Regions from separate parts of the Homo sapiens genome. Here region 2 is linked to region 1. The links are contacts of gene promoters, found by promoter capture Hi-C in blood cells and fetal thymus (Javierre and others, 2016). All regions are on one chromosome and are shown on one strand. Each heading gives the region's core, a stretch centred on a gene start or on the middle of the fragment in contact. The rest is flanking DNA. Distances are from core to core; before and after follow the strand shown. Region 1 holds the start of LAMTOR5 (late endosomal/lysosomal adaptor, MAPK and MTOR activator 5). Region 2 holds the start of CD53 (CD53 molecule).

What was found. The method cuts DNA at HindIII sites, captures the fragments that hold promoters and counts their contacts. A CHiCAGO score of 5 or more calls a contact.
Region 2: the fragment with the promoter of CD53 here is called in contact with the fragment with the promoter of LAMTOR5 in region 1 in 10 of 17 cell types (monocytes, M1 macrophages, total B cells and 7 more); the score reaches 10.7 in monocytes.

What each region holds. Positions count from the first base shown.
Region 1 is chr1:110,405,354-110,410,108 of GRCh38, forward strand. It overlaps LAMTOR5 (late endosomal/lysosomal adaptor, MAPK and MTOR activator 5), which reads right to left and starts at 2,341. Exons shown (of 4, transcript NM_001382293.1): 1 at 2,233-2,341; 2 at 965-1,026. The coding sequence starts at 2,267. LAMTOR5-AS1 (LAMTOR5 and SLC16A4 antisense RNA 1) reads left to right here and starts at 2,456. Exons shown (of 3, transcript NR_102697.1): 1 at 2,456-2,601. RefSeq lists an enhancer at 2,283-2,512. The HindIII fragment of the contact is 8,453 bases long and covers 1-4,242 here.
Region 2 is chr1:110,870,706-110,875,460 of GRCh38, forward strand. CD53 (CD53 molecule) reads left to right here and starts at 2,443. Exons shown (of 8, transcript NM_000560.4): 1 at 2,443-2,543. It also overlaps a transcript of LRIF1 not described here. RefSeq lists enhancers at 1,644-1,693, 2,294-2,403, 3,916-3,965. The HindIII fragment of the contact is 4,495 bases long and covers 2,301-4,755 here.

The DNA.
Region 1 (4,755 bases), core at 1,091-3,590:
GTGGTTTCACCATGTTGGCCAGGCTAGTCTCGAACTCCTGACCTCAGGTGATCCACCCGCCTCCGCCTCCCAAAGTGCTGGGATCACAGGTGTGAGCCACCGCATCCGGCCTCTTTTTTTAAATTTTAAAAACATATATATATGTTTATTGTAAAAATAGAGATGGGGGGTCTCACTGTGTTGCACAGGCTGGTCTTGAACTCCTGGGCTCAAGTGATCTGCCCACCTTGGTCTCCCAAAGTGCTGGGATTACAGGCGTGAGACACTGCACCTGGTCCCTCAATTTCTTTTTCTACCTCACTGGGTTGTTATGAGGAATAAAAGAGTATATGTAAAGCACTTACAATGGTGCTTGGCACATAACAGCTCAATAAATATAATTCTATGATTATTACCATTATCAAATAACAACCCAGTGAAGAAAATGAGGGCCTAAAAGGTAGTTTTTTGGTCCACGTTCACACTACTAACAAATGAAAGAGCAAGGGATTGAGACCAGGTATGTCCAACACTGAAATCCCATTTTACTGCCTATTCACTTCTTGTTTAGTGTAGTTGAGCTTCAAAATTGTACACCACCCACCTTGCCGGGTTGTTGTGAAAATTAAAGATAATGTATTTAGAGCCTAGCAGTCTCAGCATATGGCATACATTCAATAAATGGTTAACAGCTGTTATTATCTGAAGTCCTTTCTAGACTCAATTTAAAATGATTCAAATATTATTTTTAGTAGAGACAACTATTTATTGTTATAGGACTGCAAGGAACATCTTCCTTCATAAATACCAACTGAAAAGTTTCAATTTTCTGATACTGTTATTTGGAGATAATCTCTACTCTCAAACTCAGAAAGACCTGGCAAGGTAACAGGAAATAAAAGCTAGAAAATAATAGCACGCTAGGCTCCAAGTCAACATCAGATGCTATGCAATTCATCAAATAGTTGGTATGAGAGATACTTACAACCCAGATTAAGTCCTTGTGAATCTGTGCACAGGACTCCAACAATGGAGGGATTCTTCATTCTAATTCCAGGAACACAAGAGAGTTGAAGTACATAATGGGAGAAAAAGGATTTAAATAAGTACAAACATACAGGTGTTCTATGTACCAGGCATTAAGTGCTTTAAATCAATATTTCTCAATCTTTTTTCATTGTCACACCCTAAGAAAAAAATTAAGTTCTAGGGCCGGGCGCGGTTGCTCACGCCTGTAATCCCAGCACTTTGGGAGGCCCAGGTGGGCGGATCACCTGAGGTCGGGAGTTCAAGACCAGCCTGACCAACATGGAGAAACCCCGTCTCTACTAAAAATACAAAATTAGCCAGGCGTGGTGGCGCATGACTGTAATCCCAGCTACTCGGGAGGCTGAGGCAAGAGAATCGCTTGAACCTGGGAGGCGGAGGTTGCAGTGAGCCGAGATCACGCCATTGCACTCCAGCCTGGAAGACGAGCGAAATTCCGTCTCAAAAAAAGAACACAAAAAATTTAAGTTCTAGTTAATTAATTGAAATAAACCAGTTTCTCTCTGATGAGAGAAAAAAATGTGCTAAGTACTGCTGAGTTCTGGAGGGCCACAAACACTGCGTGAAAAACATCTAGGATGTTTTCACTCTTGTTAAAAACGCATGTTTTAGTACTAACTCATTTAAAACAACTGTTGAAAAACTCAAGTTACCTCCTGGAGGGTAAGTGGAAGCTGAGGGACATCGGTGGGAGGCAGGTGTCTCTCTGTACCCTTTACACTTTTCCAGTTTTGAATTTTACATAGATACTGCTTGTTCGAAAAATTTAAAGAATGATTTTTATCTACTTAAGCACCAAGTAACTGATAGGTTACACACAGGAGATACGTGTTTGTTTACACTGCAGGGCTCGACACTGCACAACTGGCACAATCTTCCCAAAAGTCAACCCGTTTTCTAAAACTTCCGCAGAACCACCCTGACCGTAAAGACGATTTCAACAACGAGATAGGCAGTTTTGGCCCGTGGCCTGGGCCCGGGAGACTCGCTCAAGAGGGAATGTGCGGTGCCCGGCAGGATTTTAATTCCGGGTCACCCGCCCCGCCCTGCGGCCTTGGGTAGAGTTTAGCCCCCTCATCCCGTGTCCCGGGGGTCGCGCGACGTCCCCGAGACGCCCTGGCCGGTACTCGCAGCTCGCGCCTTTCGTTCCGCTCAAGTTCCTCCGCCGCGACCTCAGGACAGGCCGAAGAGGCGCGCACTACTCACGTGTCTTCCAAGTGCTGCTCCAAGGTCGCCTCCATCCCACCCACCGACCACTCCGGCTCAGAACCCAGCGGCACGGCACGTCCTTCTCCACCACAGGCCTCAGTCACTTGACGCGAGCGGGGCGTGGACCGTAACGGCGCCTCCAAAGGGACAAAATTGATCACGGTGCAACGTCCGCGTTCTTTACTGGAAAACATCACTGCGCTTCCGTCGCACAGAGCCTGACGAAGGCTTGGGCTCCCCGCGCGGTGACCGTCGAGGTGACCTGCACCTGGCTCCATGGCGGAACCGGCCGGCACGGATTATTCCCCTCTCGGGAGAGGTCTGCAGCCGGGCCTCAGTGCTTCAGTTCGTGGCCTGGCATTTTGTGTCAGTGTTTTTTAACCTTTGGACCCTAGTTCAACCGACTCCGAGACCTAGGGGACAGATCTTAAGTTTTACAATAACCCAGGGGTCAGACAGGGTCTGATCTAGCCTGTGGGGCAAGTACGGGGAAGACACGGGACCTCTTGGAGGGGGTCAGTAGGCTTGTAGGGGGAAAGACGCACACAGAGACTAAAGGACGAGATGGAGCAAGGTTCAACCCCCTAGCTGAGTGTTGGCAGTGTCGGGATTTTAACGAAGACATTGGTGCTTATTATGGTGAGGGGACTCAGGACAGTTTAGGGGAAGAGAGTGGCATTTGAGTCCTAACTCGTAAGGAAGACTGGGTAGGACTACTTGAAAATAACTTTTAAAAATTAATTATAAAGCTGGTAAAAATAGGAAAACATCTATGGCCCCACTGTCCAAAGACGACTTTTAACTTCTTGGAGAATATCCTTTCAGATAGTTGTCTTTGTAAATGTATACTTTTAATGTTTTTTCGTTTGCCTTTTTAAAATAAATTTTTTGGGGGACAGGGTCTTGCTCTGTTACCCAGGCTGTAGTGCAGTAGAACGATTATAGCTCATTGCAACCCGGACGTCCTGGGTTCAAGCTATCCTCACCTCTCAGCCTCTCGACTGGCTAGGACCACAGCCTCGAGCCATCATGTCTGGCTAATTTTTACGTTTTTTTGTAGAGATGGGGGTCTCGCTGTGTTGTCCAGGCTGGTCTTAAACTCCTTGCTTCAACAGATCCTCCCACTCCAGCCTCCCAAAATGTGATTACAGGCTGAGTCACCACGCCTAGCATGGTTTTTTTTGTTTTGTTTGTTTTGTAAGCAAAATTGACATACATACTGGAGGTACAATTCTGTAGCTGGCCTTCTTTACAGAGTTTAGAATAAATGTCTTTCCATGTCAAGTTTTCACTTACATCCTTTGTAGTAGTTGCAAAATATTCCATTTTATAGCTGTATCTTAATTGTGGATTAAGGTTGGAGTGCAGTGGCACTATCATGGCTTAGTCCAGCCTCAGCCTTCTAGGTTCAAGCGATCTTCCCACCTCAGCCTCCCAAGAAGCTGGGACTACAGGGACCCGCCACCCCACCTAGCTAATTAAAAAAAAAATTGTAGAGATGGAGTCTCAGTGTGTAGCCCAGTCTCAAGTGACCCTCCCTCGTTGGCTTCCCAAAGCGCTGAGATTGCAGGTGAGCCACTGTACTTGGACTTTTTTTTTTTTTTTTGCTTTTGTTTGTTTTTTGTTTTAGCTATTACAATGCTGGTTGAATATCCTCATAGCTAAATATCTGTGCAGTTTTAAAATTTCCTTATAAGTTACTAGAAATGGAATGACTGGGTTAAAGGACATGATCATTTTTTAAGACTCTTGATACATACTTACAAATTGCCTCCCGAAAAAGTGGTGCTAATTTACTCAAATTGGTAAGCCTCACCCCCTCTGTGGATCATTCCTTGCACTAAGTTTCTTCCAACTCTGTCACCTCCAGCTTTTTACTCACAGCCTACCTTCCAATCTGGGGCCCAGCTCCCAGATCGGAAGATACCAGACTTTGGTATTGAACCAAAGTCCAATACACTGCACTGGCATTCAGAGTCCCTTTTTATTCCGCAGCTGTCATAGTGAAGCTTGCAGCTTCCTTGAAATTCCAGTTTGTTTATTTCTTTATTTTTTTGAGACAGAGTCTTGCTCTATCGCCCAGGCTGGAGTGCAGTGGCGCCGTCTCAGCTCACTGCAACCTCTGCCTCCTGGTTCAAGCGATTCTTCTGCCTCAGCCTCCCGAGTAGCTGGGATTACAGGCATGCACCACCACACGTGGCTAATTTTTGTGCTTTTAGTAGAGATGGGGTTTCACCATGTTGGCCAGGCTGGTCTCAAACTCCTGACCTCAAGCGATCCGCCCACCTCAGCCTCCCAAAGTGCTGGGATTATAGGCATGAGCCATTGCACCCAGCCAAAATTCCAGTTTGAATGTTATAATTCAGGGGTCTTGGACTCCTGCTCTAGAGAAATTATTCATGTTAAGTTAGGGGTAACACAGTACAGGCCATATAAGTTTTAGAAAAAGCAGTTTAAAACTTAGCATTAGAAAACATAAGTACTGCCTGGTGAAATGGCACGTGCCTATAATCCCAGCTA
Region 2 (4,755 bases), core at 1,193-3,692, 470 kb after region 1:
CAGGCCTCACATTACCTGAAACTATTCAAATATTTATAGAACACCTCTTATGTGCCAGACCCAATACCAGGCACTAAAAATACAGTCATGAGCAAGATCACCCAACATACACAGAGTAACACAGAACCTACAGAGCTTTCAGTCTAGTGGGGAAAACAATGAAAAACAAGGAATGACAGAGGGTGGAGGAATGCCTGTGGGCAATGGGAGCAGAGAGCAGGAGTAACTGTTCCTGCCTGGAGGGCTTTCTGGTGCTATGATGGGGGATGAGTAAGGAATTAAGTGAACAGGTGAGAGGATATTCTAGAGAGAGCTCGTGAGACAGAACTAGATTGATTTGTTTAAGCAACTAAAAGGAATTCCATATCCAGTGTTACCCAGTGTGAGGAGATCTTGGGGGTGGGGCCGGGGAAGAAATAGCCGGCTGAGAGTTTTAAGCTGGGGAGTCATGTGATTAAATTTGCATTTTAGAAGGCTCTCCTCCCTTCTTCCTGAGGACAGACTGAAGAAACATCCAAGGTGGTCTTGAAGGACACTGGGATCCTGTAACACAGGTAAAAGATAAAGACTAATGTAATTTCTATGGGGTTGGAGAGAGGTGGTCTGGTTTGAGAAATATTTAGGCAAAAGCATAACTGACAGGACTTGGTGGCTGATAATAGGTGGTGGTGTGGGAGAGAGAGTAGCTTAAGAGGACACCTGGTTTCTCATGAACGTGGCTGAAAGGCCAGTCAGGCCTTTCCTGGATGGTGGACATGGTGGGAGGAGCAGGCTTGAGTGTGGGGATGCCAAGTTAATCAAACTGAAGTTGGATATTGGATTTGAGGTGCCTGGGAGAGAGTGGAGCTCAAAGGAGAGATCATGGCATCTATATAGATTTGTGAATCTTTGGAACAGACAGATAGTAATTAGAGCCATCAGAATGGGTGAGATAATTAGGAAAATATGAGTTCAGCCAGAAGCCTCTCCTCAGCCCCACCACTTCAGGGACCTGTAAGCATGGCAGCAGCTCTGAGTGAGGGTCAGTGATTCCAGCCGAGGTGCAGAGACTTTTTAATAGCATTCCCTAAAGTGTAGTTACACTGAAAAATTGTTCCCCAAGAGAAACTACACACACACACACACACACACACACACACACACCACACAGTTCCATGCTCAGATAAGTTTGGAGAAATCTATATATTATTTCCCCTGCTTAGAGAATATTAAGGACTGACAAGTTCTGCAGTAAAGACCTTTTTACCTTCATTTAATTCAGTTTTCCCCACAAGACAGCCCTGGCTGGAGATTACTCTGGATCTGAATGTCTCAGGGTGAAGGAAGCGGGAGACAGCTAGCTTTCCCAGAGGCATGCCCGCAAGTCAGCACCGCAGAGTGCATCTATCTGTTCATTTATAAGATGAAAACATTGGGGCCCAGTGATTGCTTCCAAGTTTCATAGTTAGCTAGTGATACATTTGGGTTGTCACATACTCCTTTGACCCAATCTAAGAAAATTCCAGTGATGCAGCATAGTGAAACCAGAAACACATTTTTCAAAATATATTGATCACAGTGTTTCTCAAAAGGCCTTCTCTGTGACCTTGAATTTTAATCCTACCTCTGACATGTCTTAGTTGTATGAGCTTGGGCAAATTTTCTAACCTCTTTGAGCGCCTGTTTTCTTGTATATAAATAAGGATGTAACAGTAACCAGTAGGATTATTATTAGGTGTTACCATTAATAAACTGAGGCTGACAGATTGAGACTTGCTCAAGATCTCACAGCTAAAAGAGATAAAGCTGGAACTGAAACTCAGATCTTTGGCTCCAAATGTGGTGTTTCCTGTACTAACCAAATCATTTCTACCAGTGCCCCTGGGATTATGCCTTGGGGACTCACCTTAAGACAGTCTTGCTCTCGAGACAGAGAAGTCTGCAAATGGTGTCCAATTCAAGTCTAGAGACTGGCTGAAGCCAGACAGAGGGAGTATGAGGAGGGGGCAGAGAATCTTCAGAAAGACATTCCAAAGTCTCGGGCCTAGAAAATGTTTAGAAATATTGGTTCCTGTGTTCCCCTCCAGTCTGTCTACCTGAATGGGAAACTGGTGGTGGGGCCAGGCATACTTCTTTTTGAACAAATACACAGTTAATTCTGAGATGCCACCTTGATTGAGAAGCACTGTCCTTTTCTAAGCAAAAATCATTGCCAAATTACCCTAGAATCCACCACTGCTCACAGATCTGTGCCTGAACCAACTTGGTTTTGAAGTTTTCTTTTGTTTCACAAAACTAGTTTAGGGTGGGCTGTGAGAGGAAGCTTCTAAAAAGCCACTGGGAAAGTACTAAATCTCTGAGACTAAAGAGGGCGGACTCAGCCTCACTTCCTCCTTCTTCTCATCTGGGCTTCCTGTCGTCACAGCATGATCATATTTTTTCACCCTTCACTTCTCCTTTTACACAAATAGCCCCGGATATCTGTGTTACCAGCCTTGTCTCGGCCACCTCAAGGATAATCACTAAATTCTGCCGAAAGGACTGAGGAACGGTGCCTGGAAAAGGTAAGGTTGATGACGTTTTAACTTGGCTTGCTGTCTAATGTGGGGTAGGGCGTATTCTTAGGGGTCTCCATATACCTCTCTAGTAACCATAAAATCTCCGGCAACTTCTCTTTCACAAATATTTAGTGCACAAAGTAAAACAGATTAGCAAGATCCTAGTAACATCCCCAAAGGCAATCAGGCCAGAAATACTTTTACTTAATCAGGTTCCCATTATCTAAATCTCTGAGTCGAGGCATTCACATGCCTTAATTGCTTCAGAGCTTGAATTACTCTGTGTAGTAATTCCTGATGCCTGGAGCTTTCTATGCGAGATGACATTGGGGAGATTTCCTATGTGCTCTGGTCTTCAGAAAATTGGTCTTGTGATTTTAAAGTGAGGAAAGAACCCACAGCCAGAGCTGTCTTTAGAAAGACAGCTAGAAGACACAGTTCTTTTTCATTTGAGAAAATTTCAAAAGTAAATTTAGTGACTCCCACTGTGGTTCTTCAAAGCCACTAAATAGAAAGGTGGCTAAAAATCAAAACACCAGGATGTGCTCAGTAACTGTATTTTAAAAGGTGAAAGCTAGACATCTCTAAAGGATGCATAGATTGTTGGCTTTTAAGGAGCAGGAAGCACATTGGGATCCTCAGCATTTCCCCAAATTATCCTTGGTGTACAAAACATGACCACTGATAAATGTCACATGAAATGCACGTATAAAATGCAATCCCCAAAACTTGATACTGCAGTAATTTCCAATCATGTGCTGTAACTAATGACTGAGGTTGCATGGACTCAGCAAAGTGTTAGCAGAGCTTCGGTCCTGACTCTCTGTGACCACCATCGGAAACTCTATGTAAGAGCTTTCTTCTTCCAAGACCTGTGAGAATTTCACTTGATTATGCCCTGGAGCAGAAAGGAGAAAGTTCTCTTTGATTACACCCACCCATCTAAGTATGAGGATTGGGAACAGGGCAGAGGGCTCTAGATTTCCAAGAGGGGTGGGGACGGGGAGAGGGCTCTGGATTCCCAAAACACCTCAGAGTTTATTGAGCCTTGTATTAAAAAATAAAAAGCAGTCTTTTAAATAAATTCACTTAATAATCAAGTGGTAGGTGCCTCCTGAGGCCAGGCACTGTGCTTTGGGAATTGTGGGGGAGGGAGATGAAAAGGTAGAAGGAGAATATTTGTCTAGCAAACAGTCCTACTCTTAAGGAACTCCCATGGGAGATAAGAGATATCATACTATGCGTGTGCTTTGGAAGAAAGCTGAGAAAAAGCAAACTCCCAGCTGCTGGACAAACAAAGAGGTTTTGCTTTCTCAATCTTGAGGAGAATCTGTACTATTTTGAAATTGTGGTTGAATGGGAGCAAAGACTGAACTGAAACATTATTTCCTGTGATGTTTCCTGTGTGGGCCAGTTAAGAACACTTAATTTTTAAATGAAAGGATTGGGTACCTTTATATTCATGAGGAATGATTCCAAGTTCATGCCTTCACAGCTATGGTTACCACCACCTAAGTGACCTCACCTTTGTTCACTGACAAGAGGCACAAACTGGAAAGGACAAAGTCTGTTGGTCCTTGGTTTTTTGTGCCCTCTGATTGACCTCTGACTGCACAGAGGCCCTCGGACTCTGGTTCTCCTTTCCCACTCCTACCCCATGGCCAGATATGGCACTTGGTGCTGGAGATACAGGATAACAGAAAAGATTATCATCTGAAAGGAGTTGTAGAGTTTATTATGGATGACAGTCACAGCAATATACAAATACAGTGCAATGTGCTCTTTTCTATAATAGATGGAGAACGTGCACAAACTGTAGGAGTTAGGAGTGTGCCAAAAACTGCCTAGAGAGGTGACTGGTGGGTTCACTTTCACAGAAGTATGGGTTTGCTATGGAGACATTCTAGACCAAGGGTGCTGTATATTCAAATTCAAAGAAGTGTGTACCTCCAGGCATGTTAGAAATGAGAGAAAGCAAGTGAGACTGCAGTGTAACACACCATGTTTACAGAGCCACATGAAGTGGAAAGCCCTTTCTCCTACTTGGCACCAGAAAGTGGAGGGCAAGATCGCTCACCAGGCAGGTCCTAGGTCCAGCTCTGGGTGGGGCTATGCCCACCATGTTCACACGACAGAATTGATGGGATGTGGGTTTGAAATGAGGGAGAAGAGGCAGGTTTTTGCCTCCTCAACCTAGATTTTCACTTAGAGCAGAAGG